2 separate regions of the Homo sapiens genome follow, and region 1 is linked to region 2. The links are contacts of gene promoters, found by promoter capture Hi-C in human tissues and cell types (Jung and others, 2019). All regions are on one chromosome and are shown on one strand. The core of a region is centred on a gene start or on the middle of the fragment in contact, and the rest is flanking DNA. Distances in the headings are between cores, read along the strand shown. Region 1 overlaps GPR157 (G protein-coupled receptor 157). Region 2 holds the start of CA6 (carbonic anhydrase 6).

The links. Contacts are between HindIII fragments. The study calls those that stand out against the background at their distance.
Region 1: a contact is called between a fragment that was not itself captured here and the fragment with the promoter of CA6 in region 2, in 3 of the 25 tissues and cell types used here (bladder, lymphoblastoid cells and spleen).

Annotation. Positions count from the first base shown.
Region 1 is chr1:9,097,019-9,102,203 of GRCh38, reverse strand. GPR157 (G protein-coupled receptor 157) reads left to right here. Exons shown (of 4, transcript NM_024980.5): 4 at 1-1,899. Among named protein-coding and RNA genes, the nearest start is that of GPR157, 29 kb to the left of the region's middle. The HindIII fragment of the contact is 3,861 bases long and covers 1,262-5,122 here.
Region 2 is chr1:8,943,030-8,947,671 of GRCh38, reverse strand. It overlaps CA6 (carbonic anhydrase 6), which reads right to left and starts at 1,804. Exons shown (of 8, transcript NM_001215.4): 1 at 1,707-1,804. The coding sequence starts at 1,785. The HindIII fragment of the contact is 10,958 bases long and covers 1-4,642 here.

The DNA of each region.
Region 1 (5,185 bases), core at 1,943-4,442, 150 kb before region 2:
TCCTGACCTCAGGTGATCCACCCACCTCAGCCTCCCAAAATGCTTCGATTGCAGGCATGAGCCACTGTGCCTGTCCAAGAAAACAGATTTCTTGATGGAAATTAGTGAGACAGACATCCCCTTAGGATTGAAAGAGAGCTCTGGGCTGCTCCAGGGAAAGCCACTTGGCAGAAATAGCCTCTGTAAGTGAATTCTGGATTCCCCTGAAGACGTTACAGCAAATCTCTGGGTATGTCTCTGGTAAAGACCCTCACTTGAGCTTCTAGAAGGGAGCGAAAATTCAGGAATTTGCTTGCTGCAAAAGAGAACATGATTAACAGGTAAAAGAGAAAAGACAATATAGGCCACAGAGGAATAGTGTTAGGATCAACCCTGCTCAGCAGGGGCCTCTGGAGCCCTCCCTGCTGTACCCAAGCCAGAGCTGAGACATGGCTCCCCAGATGGACTGGCTGTGGTCAGGAAAGGCCTGTAGAGGGAGCTGAGGGCTCAGAAAATACCTGCTCCGGGTGCCTGGGCTCAAGTTCTCATTCCATTTCTTTGATGCCACTGGCCACTGTATCTGCTTTTGTAAAAACCTCCAAAAAGTTATACATCAGGTATCTCTAGTCAGCTTCCTCCGCTGCCCACCTCTTGCCACAGATGAGTGATCACTGTGAATGGTGGTGACCAGGTGGGCAGGGCAGGGGCTTGTCTAAGTGCCTTAGCCCAGGCCCCTGGCCCATCGACCTCGAAAACAGCAATATCGCCTCCTTCTTAGATCCAGTTACCAAGTCAGTCTAGCTGGGTGGGTAGTGCTCAGACAGAAAGGCTGGATGGGAAGGAAGTCACATCCTAAAAGTCCAGGAGGGGGCCAGGCGCAGTGGCTCACGCCTGTAATCCCAGCACTTTGGGAGACCAAGGTGGGCAGATCACCTGAGGTCAGGAGTTTGAGACCAGCCTGGCCAACATGGTGAAACCCTGTTTCTACTAAATATACAAAAAAAAAAAAAATAGTTGGATGTGGTTTCGTGTGCCTGTAGTGCCAGCTACTCAGGAGGCTGAGGCAGGAGAATTGCTTGAACCCAGAAGGCAGAGGTTGCAGTGAGCCGAGACTGCACCACTGCACTCCAGCCTGGGTGACAGAGCAAGACTCCATCTCAAAAAATAAAACAAGTCCAGGAGGGGCTGTTACTTCTTTTTAGTTTATTTATTTTTGTGAGGCAGGGTTTTGCTGTCTGGAGCATCATACCCAGTCTGGAGTGCAGTGATGCAATCATGGCTCACTGCAGCCTCCACCTCCCAGGCTCAAGCGATCCTCCCACCTCAGCTCCCTGAGAAGCTGGGACCACAGGCCTGGCTAAATTTTGACTTTTTGTAGAGACAAGGTTTTGCCATGTTGCCCAGTCAGATCTCAAGCGAGGGGCTGTTACATCTGATCAGGGCAAAAGGGGCTGTGCTCCTTGGACACTTTGCACAGCCCCAGTGGGCTTCTTTCTCCTCTGTTAGTGTGGTTAATGTTCATCTGCCTGCATCCCTGAGTCACCCAAGTGTAACCTCAGCCATAACACGTACTGCAGCCGGAACGGTGTCCGCAGCTCAGCGTCCCTCTCCCATGCACTTTCTGAACTTTGGTCTTTTAACCAGGTTTACCAGCCGCTTTCTGCCTCTTTGTGCTTTTGAGGGTTTTTTGGTTTGTTTGTTCTGTTTTGTTTTTAAATAAAGATGATTATTTGGCCCAGGCTGAGGGTGCAAACAGAACTCTTCACGTGTCCACGACAAGAAAAATAGTTTTTACAAACTTCTAGTTGTGGCATCAAAAGTGTGAGTTTTTGCACCTGCAAAATTGTAATGCAAGCCCTGACTGGGTGGAAGCTGAAGTCTTGCTGTTTTAAATTAAATAAATAAATTATTTTTCTCCTATGTGTTTGGTAAAGTGATTGCCTCCTGATGTGTTGTGCAGGGTGGGGAGGGGGCGGTTGCAGGACAGGTGGCTCGCATTGGCCTGTGTTGCTGTGGTTCCAGAGCCTACCATGAGGCTGAGACCTGGAGAAGACAGCTCTGCCCTTCTCTCTTGGCAAATTAGCTAAAGAGGCAGCCGCCCTGTTGGCATAGCCAGCTTCCCCTGAGTTGACCTAATAAAGATCATGGGGGTGGAGAGATAGGGAGAGGGTTTTAGAATACAGATTCCTGGGCTTTGTCCACAAAGTTGGTGCTTACCAGGGGAATGAAAGGCACTCCTATAGCAGGACCCTAGTGTAACCGCCCAGTGGGTTCACCTTGCCTGCTGCCTAGATAGAGCCGATGAGGGTCAACAGGTCCAAGTTCCAAGCACCCATGACTTGGGGCTGAACTTGATTAAGAGAGATGCTCCAGGGCTGAGCTGCTGACCCCTTCACCCTTCATGCATGGTTGTATCACACACAGGGTGACCCGCCGCAGCTGCATCTGCAGGCCTCCTGGTGGTCAGGGACTGCTGGGACACAGGGTCTCTTCTTGGAAGGGAGCAGCCTTCCAAACGCATCTACTGGAGCTGGCTGCCTTGCTGCGTGACTTGCAGATCTGCACTGGCCATGCAGCCCCACCTCCGGTCATAGTTTTCTTGAAACTGCTCCGCCTTGGGAATTTTGCTGCCAAAAGCTCCTAAACTTTCTTCCACTGTCTGGATTTTGTGCAGTTAAAACTGCATTGAGGAGAATGGCTTGAACCCGGGAGGCAGAGATCGAAGTGAGCCGAGATCACGTCACTGCACTCCAGCCTGGGTGACAGAGCAAGTCTCAAAAAACAAACAAAACAACAACACAAACTGCATTGAATAGCCCCTAGAAGTGGCATCTTGAATTTGGTTATTAAGGTACAACATACACAAACTTAAGTAATATTAAAATAGCAGGCCTGGTCCTGCTACTTCGACGCGACCACCCTGAGGTTTGTTAACTATTCTCTCCTGCCTTTGTCTTTGCATCTCTAAACTTGATGCTATGTGCTTACCTGGGAGAAAATGGAAGCATCCCCTTGAGGCCCTCTCCTGTGACCCTCCACTCATCAACTGCCATGCGCCTTTCCCTTTCCATCTGTCTCCCCTCAGTGACCTTTTTTCACCTCTTCCCTGACCTCTTCTCCGGAGTTCTCTTCGCCTTCCTCACCCCAGCAAATGCAGCATGCATTCAGAATCCAGGCTCCGTGTTCCACACTGCTCCACACCACTCCACACCGTTCCCTCTTGCCTGACCTCCTGCTTCTGCCTATATGCAGCTCACACCCCACAGGGTCACCTCCTTCTGCTCCCATAGACTTCTAAGCGGGTCTTTGGGATGCCACAGTCTCTGCAGAAACCATACGTTCCAGGGACCACTCTACCAGGCATTTTCCCCAGAGCCTGCCAGGCTCCTGGCACAGAGTCAGGCTGTATCCAAGGGTCAGCCCAGCATGCAGCTGAGGCTTAGGCCTTGCACATAGGAAAAGCTCCAGCAGGGGAAGCTTTGGGGGCAAGGTGGACCACTTTCTGAATGAAGCATGCGTGTCTAGTAACAATTACTCACCTGTGGGAGGAGAGTCCAGAATCCAGGCTCCACGAGGAAAAGGATTTGCCAGATGTGGTGGGGTCAGGACGTTGTCACTAGCTAATAGCTGGCGTTTCCTGAGTGCTTACCCTGTGCCAGGCCAGATATGAAGTTGCCCTTCTGCGGGCAGGATCCTGGAAACTGCACGGGTCACAGGCCCATGGAGTTGGCACTGCCTGTACACAGGACAAAGCTGGTGCTTACCAGGGAAGTGAAAGGCACTCCTATTGCAGGGCCCTAGTGTAACCGCCCAGTGGGTTCACCTTGCCCGCTGCCTAGACAGAGCCGATTTATCAAGACAGGGGAATTGCAACAGAGAAAGAGCGATTCACACAGAGCCAGCTGTGTGGGAGACCAGAGTTTTATTATTATTCCAATCGGTCTCCCAGAGCATTTGGGGATCGAGTTTTTAAAGATAATTTGGTGGGTGGGGAGGGGCCAGTGAGTCGGGAGTGCTGATTGGCTGGGTCAGAGATTAAATCATAGGGAGTTGAAGCTGTCCTCTTGTGCTGAGTCAGTTCCTGGGTGAGGGCCACAAGATGAGATGGGCCAGTTTATCGATTTGGTGCCAGCTGATCCATCAAGTGCAGGGCCTGCAAAATATCTCAGGCACTGACCTTAGGTTTTACAATAGTGATGTTATGCCTAGGAGCAATTTGGGGAGGGTCAGAATCTTGAATCCTCAGCTGCATGACTGCTAAACCATACTTTCTAATCTTTTGGCTAACAAGAAGGGGATCTACCTTGAGAAAAGGGCTGCTATCTTCTTTTTTCTAAACTATAAACTAAGTTCCTCCCCAGATTAGTTCAGCCCATGCCCAGGAATGAACAAGAACAGCTTGGAGGTCAGAAGGAAGATGGAGTTGGTTAGGTCAGATCTCTTTCACCGTCTCAGTCATAATTTTGCAGTGGCAGTTTCACTAGCAGGGTCTCAGAGTAGGAGAGAACAACATTGGGGTATTTATTCTTTTTTTTTTTTTTTTTTTTTGAGACGGAGTCTTGCTCTGTCACCCAGGCTGGAGTACAGTGGCACGATCTCGGCTCATCGCGATCTCCAACTCCCAGGTTCAAGCAATTCTCCTGCCTCAGCCTCCCTAGCAGCTGGGAGTACAGGCATGCGCCACCACACCTGGCTAATTTAATTTTTGTATTTTTAGTAGAGACAGGGTTTAGCCATGTTGGCCAGGCTGGTCTTGAACTCCTGACCTTGTGATCCACCTGCCTCTGCCTCCCAAAATGCTGGGATTACAGGCGTGAACCACCACGCCTAGTCCATATTTTTGAAGATCAAAACATATAGTTTCAGATGAGTCTTTCAGCCTTCTTGGGATTAGCAAGTCGTGATGTAATCCTTTCACACATGTGAGCACAGCATGATGAGGATTTGCTGGTGGCTAGTTGAATGAGTTTTGAGTCTAAGCTATCATTGGATGCTTTCTATTGAAGAGCTGATGAATCTTTCCAGGAAGTTCCTGGAGTGAACCATAAAGTTATTTGCAGCAGTTGTCTTGCAGGACAAGAATCTCCTGGGCATAGTGAAGTGATATTGATGAAGGCAGCCGTGTGTTTATCAAGTCATCTTACAGTAGACAAGCTGAGGGGATGGCTTTGATTCTCCAAGGAAACGAGAAGCAGGTGGGTCCCGA
Region 2 (4,642 bases), core at 555-3,054:
GTAGTTTCCCAGGAAGCCCACTGTCTCAGAGGCTGGGCAGAGCCTGGGAAGGACAAGGACTTCATTGTCTGAATTCTCTCTTCCTTCACCTCTGAACCACCTGCCTGCACTGCTTGGCCAAGTGAAGCAGAATGCCCCAGGCTTCCGAGGCACTGCCATGTGTAAGATCACTGTCCTCAGGAACAGAGCGGTTGTTCAGAGCTGGCTGGACTTTCTGAACCTCCCAGGATGTCCCTAATTCCGTTGCCCTTGACTTAACAGATCATCCCGTTCACCCTGAAGGAATGCTTCCGGAGCAGCTGAACTGGGGCAGACTCTGCAGGAAGCAGATGTTTGTCTCACTTCCTGCATCAGCCAGCGGCCACCAGCCTCCTCATGGGCCCCAATCCATGGTCCCGTATGGAAAGAAGGGGGATGCGGGAAGAAGCTCTCCTCACTGCCCCTGGAAAGGGCTGTTTAGTGTCCACAAAGTCCACAGACACGGCCTTCTAGCTTTGGCTCACATGTGGACCAGAACCCATGTTGAATGCCAGGATTTTACATTTCACATTTTAAAAGTCTGGTTTGGGGCCTGGCGCGGTGGCTCACGCCTGTAATCCCAGCACTTTGGGAGGCTAAGGTGGGCGGATCACTTGAGGTCAGAAGTTTGAGAACAGCCTGGCCAACGTGGTAAAACCCCATCTCCACTAAAAATACAAAAGTTAGCCAGGCATGGTGATGAGTGCCTGTAATCCCAGCTACTTGGGAGGCTAAGACATGAGAATCGCTTGAAACCAGGAGGCAGAGGTTGCAGTAAGCCGAGATGGCACCACTGAACTCCAGCCTGGGCAACAGAGCAAGACTCTGTCTCAAAAAAAAAAAAAAAACAAAAAAAAAAACACCTCTCATTTTGGCAGCCCACAGATCAAAGGGAACTGGGTCCTTATGTCAAGATGTTCTGGGTAAACTGCCTACCATGAAATTTCCAAGAAAGAAGGTCTCGCAAACCCCACAGCACCTTCCGTGAGGTTACCGAGAGTCTTTTCTAAGAACTTTGTTTTCCACTTACACGGACCAACAAAGCAAATGGTTTTACAAATAGAAGCAGTGAGTGTGCTTTTGAACCAGCCAACACTGTGGATGGAAAAAAATTTAAAGCAAAAAGCCTGTAAGTAAATCAGGAGTTTGTGAAGGGGAAAGCTATTTCCTTCTTTTCCTTATTTGAAGTTTAAGTTCAGCTTATTCTCCATACCTTCTGAGACACTGAAAAGGTAACATCTGAAGCCACAATGAGCAGACCCCCAACATATGGCAAGTGGGCTGCCTGGCCATCCTGTGAAATGCCCTAAAGGAGGACTCTTGGCCGGGCGCAATGGCTCATGCCTGTAATCCCAGCACTTTGGGAGATGGGCAGATCACCTAAGGTCAGGAGTTCGAGACCAGCCTGGACAACATGGTGAAACCCTGTCTCTACTAAAAATACAAAAATTAGCCAGGCATGGTGGCAGGCACCTGTAATCCCAGGTACTCGGGAGGCTAAGGCAGCAGAATCACTTGAACCCGGGAGGCGGAGGTTGCAGTGAGCCAACATCACACTACTGTACTCAAGCCTGGGCAACAGAGCAAGACTTTGTCTAAAAAAAAAAAAAAGAAGAAGAAGAAGGGCACTTGTCCTGTTGTAAGGGTGTGAGGGTAACTGGGGGAGCATGCAGAAGCTAGGGGCTCACCTGAGTAGGTCCAGTCAGACACATGCTGGGCCTGGCCACCCAGCAGGAACAGGGACAGCAGAAGCACCAGGGCCCTCATGGTGCTGCACATCTGTAATGAAGACTGATTCCGGCGAAGCTCTTCTTTTAAAGGCTCAGAAACTGTAAATAACAATTTACAATTGATCTGCCCAGCTGGCTAAACCACCCTTTGCTGCACCCACTAAAACAATAACACCCTCCCCATAACAGCACTTCTGGCTCCGTGCATTGCGCCAGGCAGCCCCAGCACCTGCCTGATCTCCTCCCACGTCAATTTCATATCCGGTCAGTCCATGGGTTTGGTTGTTCAGTGTCTTAGGAACACCTGAAGAGCCACACAGTGCAGCCATTGTGGACAGGTGACCGCGGAAATGGGAAAAGGCCCAAGGCAGGGAGAAGCAGGATGAAAGACTTTCCTGGACGTCGGACTTCCCATGCTCTTTCTCCTGACATTAGAGATCTGGGGACTGCTGATGGGATCACCACTGCCTGCAAACCCTGCCCATCTCAGTCATGGACACAAGCCACCGCTGCAGACATGTGGCTGCCCTCAGCCAGGCATCCAGGGAGGTGGCCTGGCCTCCATGTTTGGACATTTCACGGTCCTCTCCTTAAACCAGTGGTTGATCCTGGGTCCCAGCTCATGAGCCACATTCCAATGTGTGCCTTTATGCCATTCAAGCTGGTGTGGGCGTCTGCATTTCTACATGGATTTGTTCTGACACCTGCAGGGCTCTTGGGCACACCTAAGCCAATCAGCCAATTGCCCTCGCAGGATCCATGGATTACCTAATCCTGTGTATTCACTTGGCTAGACAGTCCCTGAAATTAGCTGAAGGAGAAACTTTTGAGTTTATGCCTGCTGACAGGCCAGCATTTCCCATGCCCTTCCACAAGGTCAAACACAAAGGGTAGCCGGAGCTCCTGCGGGGGGGCTACCATGCTGCCGGACACAAAGGGCCACCCCTGCCTTGTTATGGGGAGCTGAACCCCCTCCTGGCCTAGCTTAACTCATTGTCCACTTGGTCCTGGAATGGCAAACGTCAGCAGGCCTTCACAACAAGGATGTTAGCGGTGAACGTAGGCCTCCCGAATACTTCTAAGACTCCCCACTGTCATTTAATAGGGAACATCAGCTGCTGCAAAGAACTTGCTGGAAACTTCCATTTCTAAAGCTCAAGAGCTGAAAGAATCTCAGAGAGAGAGCAAAGCATGTTCAAGGACAAGGATTCTGAAACTAGACAGGATCTGTGCCACCTGCTAACTGTGTGACCATGGGCAACTCAGCGCTCTGTGCCTCAGCTTTCCTTCCTTTTCTTTTTTCTCTTTCTTTCTTCCTTTCTCTCTTTCTTTTCTTTCTCTCTTTCTCTCTTTCTTTCTTTTTTGAGACAGGGTCTCTCTCTGTCACCAGGCTGGAGTGCAATGATACGATTTCAGCTCACTTCTCTTGGACTCAAGCAATCCTCCTGCCTCAGCTTCCCAAGTAGCTGGGACCACAGTCGCATGCCACTACGCCCTGCTAATTTTTGTACTTTTTGTAGATACAGGTTTTCACCATGTTGCTTAGGCTGGCCTCAAACTCCTGGACTCAAGCGATTCTCCCGCCTCGTGCTCCCAAAGTGCTGGGATTACAGGCGTGAGCCGCCGCACCTGGCCGCCTCCTTTCTTTAAAAGGAGTTAGTGATAGCACCTCCTTTGTGGGGATTCGGCAATAAATGTGCCTGCAGTAGTTGGAGCAGTGCCTGGTGTGTAGCAAATGGCATTAGCATCTATTCAGACCCCTCATTTTATAGGAAAAGGAAGTGATTTATCATTGCCACCCAGCTGGTTAGTGAGGGAACTGGAGGAAAAATGCTTCAATCTCCAGCTTATGGACCATTTCTTTGCAAAAATGAGAAACCTACTCTTCTGTCCTTGCTAAACCAGTGACGCCCACCTGCTGACTCCCAGCCCTGCGGAAAGGGCCACCTTGTAAATCACAAGGCCCCACCTCTGCTGAGGAGACCAAGACCCTTTACAAGCCCAGGCAGGACCCCTGACATCAAACTGGCAGGAAAACACAAACTCAGTCATCTGAATTTTTTCTTGGGAATCTGAATTGGGAGACCCAGAAAGAATCAGGGAGCTGCAGGCAGGCAGAGACTAAAATGTCAGGCTGTCACGGAAGCCTGGGAGGACTGGATGAGCCCAGGCGAGGGGAACTGGAGCAGGAAGGAGCTCAGAGAAAGCCTGGGCCAAGGGGGAGGGGAAGACTGCCCAAAGAGGGGCCCTGGAGAGTCAGAGAGAGGAGTGCTTGCGGGAGAGCACAGTGAAATGCAGAGGGCCCACCACTCCTGGCAGCTCCCAGCCCCACGGGTCTCACTGCCCTGCGGTGAGCATTTGGGGCTTCCCAGGAGAGCTCTGGGGCGTTCCTTGCCTCACACAGCTCCTTAAAATACAGTGCACATACTGCGTCTGTGAAGCTGTGATGCCAGCAGCCCCTCTGCAGAACTGCTGTGCAGCGTATCCACCCATCACATCTGAAGCTTTGCCCTGGTTTTGCCTTTCGCTCAGGCAAGAGCCTGGACTGGCCAGCAACCTGTTGACCTGGCTGGTGTTGAGAATTGGTGTGAAAGTGAGTAATTAAGGCAATACGGGGGTCAGATCAGATGATGGCCTCTTGGAGAAGCAAGGCCATCTGCCAACGAGGGCATATTTCTAGAGAGAGGGTCCCCTCCCTCCGCTGTACAGCACACTGCCAAGGACATACTGGACCCAGAATCAGGTGTGGTCAGTAGTGTTGCCTATTTTCTGACTCCTTGTCTACTTCAAACCTGAAATTTTCCGTCACCTTTGAACATGAGTCTTCTTCTTGGATTTGGGAGGCACATTGTTTGTTTGGGTTTGCTTTTGTTGGTGGTGGTGGCAGTGGGTTT